2 separate regions of the Homo sapiens genome follow, and region 1 is linked to region 2. Evidence: promoter capture Hi-C in 16 types of primary human blood cells and fetal thymus (Javierre and others, 2016). All regions are on one chromosome and are shown on one strand. Each heading gives the region's core, a stretch centred on a gene start or on the middle of the fragment in contact. The rest is flanking DNA. Distances are from core to core; before and after follow the strand shown. Region 1 overlaps PPM1G (protein phosphatase, Mg2+/Mn2+ dependent 1G). Region 2 holds the start of SUPT7L (SPT7 like, STAGA complex subunit gamma).

The links. The method cuts DNA at HindIII sites, captures the fragments that hold promoters and counts their contacts. A CHiCAGO score of 5 or more calls a contact.
Region 1: a contact is called between a fragment that was not itself captured here and the fragment with the promoter of SUPT7L in region 2, in 3 of 17 cell types (megakaryocytes, erythroblasts and endothelial precursors). The highest score is 9.4, in megakaryocytes.

What each region holds. Positions count from the first base shown.
Region 1 is chr2:27,404,813-27,407,512 of GRCh38, forward strand. All of the region lies in intron 1 of PPM1G (protein phosphatase, Mg2+/Mn2+ dependent 1G), which reads right to left. Among named protein-coding and RNA genes, the nearest start is that of PPM1G, 3.4 kb to the right of the region's middle. The HindIII fragment of the contact is 200 bases long and covers 1,248-1,447 here.
Region 2 is chr2:27,662,128-27,664,931 of GRCh38, forward strand. It overlaps SUPT7L (SPT7 like, STAGA complex subunit gamma), which reads right to left and starts at 1,487. Exons shown (of 6, transcript NM_014860.3): 1 at 1,202-1,487; 2 at 52-154. The coding sequence starts at 65. It overlaps SLC4A1AP (solute carrier family 4 member 1 adaptor protein), which reads left to right and starts at 1,762. Exons shown (of 14, transcript NM_018158.3): 1 at 1,762-2,450. The coding sequence starts at 1,788. The HindIII fragment of the contact is 6,150 bases long and covers 1-2,512 here.

The DNA.
Region 1 (2,700 bases), core at 98-2,597, 260 kb before region 2:
AGGCGCCTGTAATCCCAGCTACTCGGGAAGCTGAGGCAGGAGAATCGCTTGAACTCAGGAGGCAGAGGTTGCAGTGAGCCAAGATCATGCCATTATACTCCAGCCTGGGCAACAGTGCAAGACTCCGTCTCGGAGAAAAAAAAAAAAAAAAAAGACTACATCAACTGAATCTATTTTCAGATTTGACTTCTTATTTAGCCAACAAAAACTCAAGGGCCTTACCTTATAATTTTTCAGGCACCCCTCCACAACCTACCTCATTTTTTTTTTTTTTTTTTTAAGATGGAGTCTCACCCTGTCGCCCAGGCTGGAGTGCAGTGGTGCGATCTCGGCTCACTGCAACCTCCGCCTCCCAGGTTCAAGCGATTCTCCTGCCTCAGCCTCCGGAGTAGCTGGGACTACAGGCGTGCGCCACCATGCCCAGCTAATTCTTGTATTTTAGAAGAGACAGGGTTTCACCATATTGGCCAGAATGATCTCGGTCTCTTGATCTCGTGATCCGCCCACCTCGGCCTCCCAAAGTGCTGGGATTACAGGCATGAGCCACCGTGCCCAGTGCCTACCTCTTAATCCCAAAGTACATACCTCATCCACTTTTTTCATGGAGAAAGGAGGAAGGAGGAGAACATCAACTGTGGTGGTTTTTTTGTTTGTTTTTTTGAGACGGAGTCTGTCACCCTGGCTAGAGTGCAGCGGTGAGATCTCGGCTCACTGGCCTTCCTATTCAAGCAATTCTCTGGCCTCTGGCTAATTTTTGTATTTTCAGTAGAGACGGGGTTTCACCATGTTGACTAGGCTGGTCTCGAACTGACCTCAGGTGATCTGCCCCCCTCGGCCTCCCAAACTGCTGGGATTACAGGCGTTAAGCCACCACGACTGGCCTGTGGTATTTTGATTACCTTTTCTCAAAACACCCTGGTTGCTGGGCATGGTGGCTCACAGCATTTTGGGAGGCAGAGGCGGGCCGATCACCTGAGGTCAGAAGTTCGAGACCAGCCTGACCAACATGGAGAGACCCCCATCTCTACTAAAAATACAAAATTAGCCAGGCGTGGTGGCACATGCCTGTAATCCCAGCTACTCAGGAGGCTGAGGCAGGAGAATCGCTTGAACCCGGGAGGCGGAGGTTGCAGTGAGCCGAGATCATGCCATTGTACTCCAGCCTGGGCAACAAGATAGAAACTCCGTCTCAAAAACAAAACAAAACAAAACAAACAACAACAACACCCTGGTCACACAGGAAGAGAAGCTTGAAACAGGCAGAAAGTAAAAATGCCAGCTATTGATGATTGCCATTTTTGTCTCAAGAGTCCTCTCTACGGCTAAATCTATCCATCAGTCAGCATGTCAACAACCTTTAGTGGTATGATAACCTTACCTCAAATGAAGCATTAGGACCAAGCAAATAGGGTAAATAAACTTTATTAATTTTTGGATTAAGCCCTAAAGCTTCAGAGGAATGGGAGTACTTTATATTTTCTGGAAAGATAAGATTCAGGGAAGAGGCTAGAACTCATAGTTATTTTCTTGCAATAGCAAAGAAACTATGCTACACTTTGAAGAGAAAAAAAGCCAGAAGGAACACTATCAATGAAGCAGAATAGGATCCCAAACAATACTCTTCAAGAGGATTTGATTAGGCATATTTAACTATTGATTAGGCATATTTATTCAAACAAGGGCAACTTCAGAAACAGCACATTAGCAAGATTTTAATACCCTAAGCAGTTATCTCTCAGGAGGAAGATTAGGATGTAAGGAATAGTCTAGTAAGATCTCTACACACTAAACCGTCCCTGACAAAAAAAATCATTTTCTAATTGAGGAGAAACCAAAAATAAAGGGAAATGCCCTACAGAGAAGCAGCAAATAGTATGGAATCACTGGGCAAACCAACGTGAAACACTGAGTAGCCAAGCAACTCAATCCGTAAGTAAAAGTAGAAAGAAGGGTACCAAAGAAATGAAAAAACAACAGCAGAGAAGTGAAAAATATTAAATGAGAAACCTGGAAGAAACGTTTTACTGCGAGATGGAATATTCACCTCAAATCTCACAACGTTAACAGAAAATGCCATGGAAATGGAACTTCTTGACTACCTACTTTACAAAAAGACTTTCCTACGAAACTATACCCAGATTTATTTATTTATTCTTTTTTTTTTTTTTTTTGAGACAGTGTCTCACTCTGTCGCCCAGGCTGGAGTACAGTGGCACGATCTTGGCTCACTGCAACCTCCGCCTCTGGGATTCAAGCGATTCTCCTGCCTCAGCCTTCCAAGTAGCTATGATTATAGGCACGCACCACCACATTCAGCTAATTTTTTGTATTTTAATAAAGACGGGGTTTCTTCATGTTGTCCAGGCTGGTCTCGAACTCCTAAGCTCAGGCAATCCGCCCGCCGCAGCCTCCCAAAGTGTTAGGATTACAGGCATGAGCCACCATGCCTGGCCTATTCATTTATTTTTTGAGACAGCGTCTCGCTCTGTCACCCAGATTGGAGTGCAGAGGGGCGATCTTGGCTCAATGAAGGCTCTGCCTCTCAGGCTCAAAGTGATTTTCTATCTCAGCCTCCCAAGTAACTGGGACTACAGGTGGGTGCCACCATGCCCAGCTAATTTTTTTGTATTTTTTGTAGAGACAGGGTTTTTGCCATGTTGCCCAGGCTGGTCTCGAACTCCTGAGCTCAGGTGATCTGCC
Region 2 (2,804 bases), core at 237-2,736:
GAATTCCTTGGCTTACCATTCAACAAAATTCACAATCTGGTTTCAACTCACCTTTGCAGATTCATTGTCCATATGTCTCTTCAAGTTCAACAAACATTTATCAAATGCCAGGCATTCTGTGTCGGTCAAAGACTGATAATGTGAGATCCTTGCCCTGAAGTGAGGAAGAGAAACAGAAGCAGAATATTTCAATATGAAACATGGTAAGTACTGTTCTAGAGGTATATGGACCTGGGGTACTGGAAGCACAAAGGAGGAGCTTCCTGGGTGAAATGACTACCTTTGTTCTAACAACATTATACTACTCAGTTTCTTGAGAATGCTGTACATTTCCACAATTGACACTTTCAGCTGTGAACTCTGCCAGAAATGCTCTGCCAACCTTGCACATCCCTGGCAGACTCATATTCATTTTTAAGTACAGCATAAGTCCCCACCGTCCGTCACTTCACCAGTGCATCTCCCTTTCTCTATTCTCACAGTGCTTTGCAAGTCTATGTCACAGCAGTTATCCTTGGATTTTAATTAGTACTTATCGCAATAGATTTTTTCTGCCCGTCTATTTCTTATGGCTGTGGTCTTGTTACAGGGCCAGGCACACAGAAATATCTGGCATTTGTTGAATGTTTACTATATGCCAGACTTCACCTTTTTTGTTTGTTTCTTTTTTGAGACAGGGTTTCACTCTGTAGCCCAGGCTGGAGTGCAGTGGTGCAGTCATGGTTCACTGCAGCCTCAACCTCCTGGGACCAAGCAATCCTCCCACCTCAGCCTCTGGAGTAGCTGGGACTACAGGCGCGCACCATCAAACCTGGATTTTTTCTTTTTTTTTTTTTTTTTTGGCGAGACAGGGTCTCGCCATGTTGCCCAGCCTCCTCTGGAACTCCTGGGCTCAAGCAATCCTCCCGCCTCAGCCTCCCAAAATGTTGGGATTACAGGCATGAGCCACCGGTCTGGCTGGCCTTTATTGTTTGATTCAATTCTTCCAACAACCCTATGAGGCTAATAATCTTATCCCCATTTTTCAGAGTGAGGGCTGAGGCCTAGTGTCTTGCCCAATGTCACAAATGGCGAGGTCAAAAATCGACAGTCTCCAGAGTCTGCTCTCTTAACCACTTAACTATTCTGCCTTAATAATTTCAGAAAAAAAATAAATGAATGAACGAAATAACAAAAAAGTCGCCCTCTTCCCTTACTTTACCGAAAGGAGCACGAAGAACAGGCACGGAGCCCAAGGAATGCCCAAGTCCCTCCAGGGGTTTCCTCGGTCACGGTCCGCCGGCGCAGGCGCCAATCACAGGGTCCTGAGGTCGCCTGACGTTCAGGGCAGCCGGAAGACGGGGAGGTCTGGACCTGAACCGAGACAAGGAGGTACCACACTATTCACTGCTGCGTCGCAGAGCGGGCTGGGCGGCTGTCTGGACCTCGAGAGGCCTGAGGCAAGGATCGCGTCAGACCCCGAAAGCTGGTTTGTTGATTAGTGATCTAAGACCGCCGGAAGCGCTTCTTCTCAATCAAGCTATGCAACAGGAAGTCATTACGATCCCGTTGTAACCTCTAAATATGTCCCCGTTCTGCACAGCATCCCGATAACCGTTTTGTTTTTCTCATATTATGACCTTCTCATGTTAGCACCACTTCGCAACGCTCCAGGTCGTGAAGGAGCAACTTCACCATCGCCGCCTACAGACGCCACTGGGAGCTTGGGAGAGTGGGACGTGGACAGGAACGTAAAGACCGAAGGGTGGGTTTCGAAGGAGCGGATTTCGAAGTTGCACCGGTTGAGGATGGCTGACATTCTCTCTCAGTCAGAGACCCTGGCGTCGCAAGACCTCAGTGGGGACTTCAAGAAGCCAGCTCTGCCGGTGTCCCCAGCGGCGCGGAGTAAGGCCCCGGCCAGCAGTTCTTCAAACCCTGAGGAGGTACAGAAGGAAGGGCCCACTGCGTTGCAGGACTCCAATTCTGGGGAGCCCGACATCCCTCCTCCTCAGCCGGACTGCGGTGATTTTAGGAGTCTACAGGAGGAGCAGTCGCGCCCCCCGACAGCGGTTTCTTCCCCTGGCGGTCCAGCCCGGGCTCCCCCCTACCAAGAGCCTCCATGGGGTGGCCCTGCCACAGCCCCCTACAGCTTAGAGACCCTGAAGGGCGGCACTATCCTTGGCACCCGTAGCTTGAAAGGGACGAGTTACTGCCTTTTCGGGAGGCTGTCTGGCTGCGACGTGTGCCTGGAGCACCCTTCGGTGTCTCGGTACCACGCAGTGCTGCAGCACAGGGCGTCCGGCCCTGACGGAGAATGCGACAGCAACGGGCCGGGCTTCTACCTCTACGATCTGGGAAGCACCCATGGCACTTTTCTCAACAAAACTCGCATCCCACCTCGCACCTACTGTCGAGTCCACGTTGGGCATGTTGTTCGCTTTGGAGGCAGCACCCGGCTCTTTATCCTGCAGGTAGGTAGAAAAACCTAGAATTGAAATTTCGGGTTCATTGGACTGCGTTCTTGTGCTTCTTAAGCTTTGGATGAGGAAGAAGAATCTCCCACTCAGCGATTACGAAAGTGAAGGAATCAAGTCTGGCCTATCATCTTCAGACGGCTGTACACATTGCTATATTTCTGAAAGTCATGTTCACAATCCCGAACTCTAAAATAACTTGTTTGGCCAGGCGCGGTGGCTCGCGCCTGTAATCCCAACACTTTGGGAGGCCCAGGCGGGAGGATCGCTTTAGCCCAGGAGTTTGAGAGGAGGCTGGGCAACATGGCAAGACCCTGTCTCTTAAAAAAAAAAAAAAAAATTAGCCAGGCA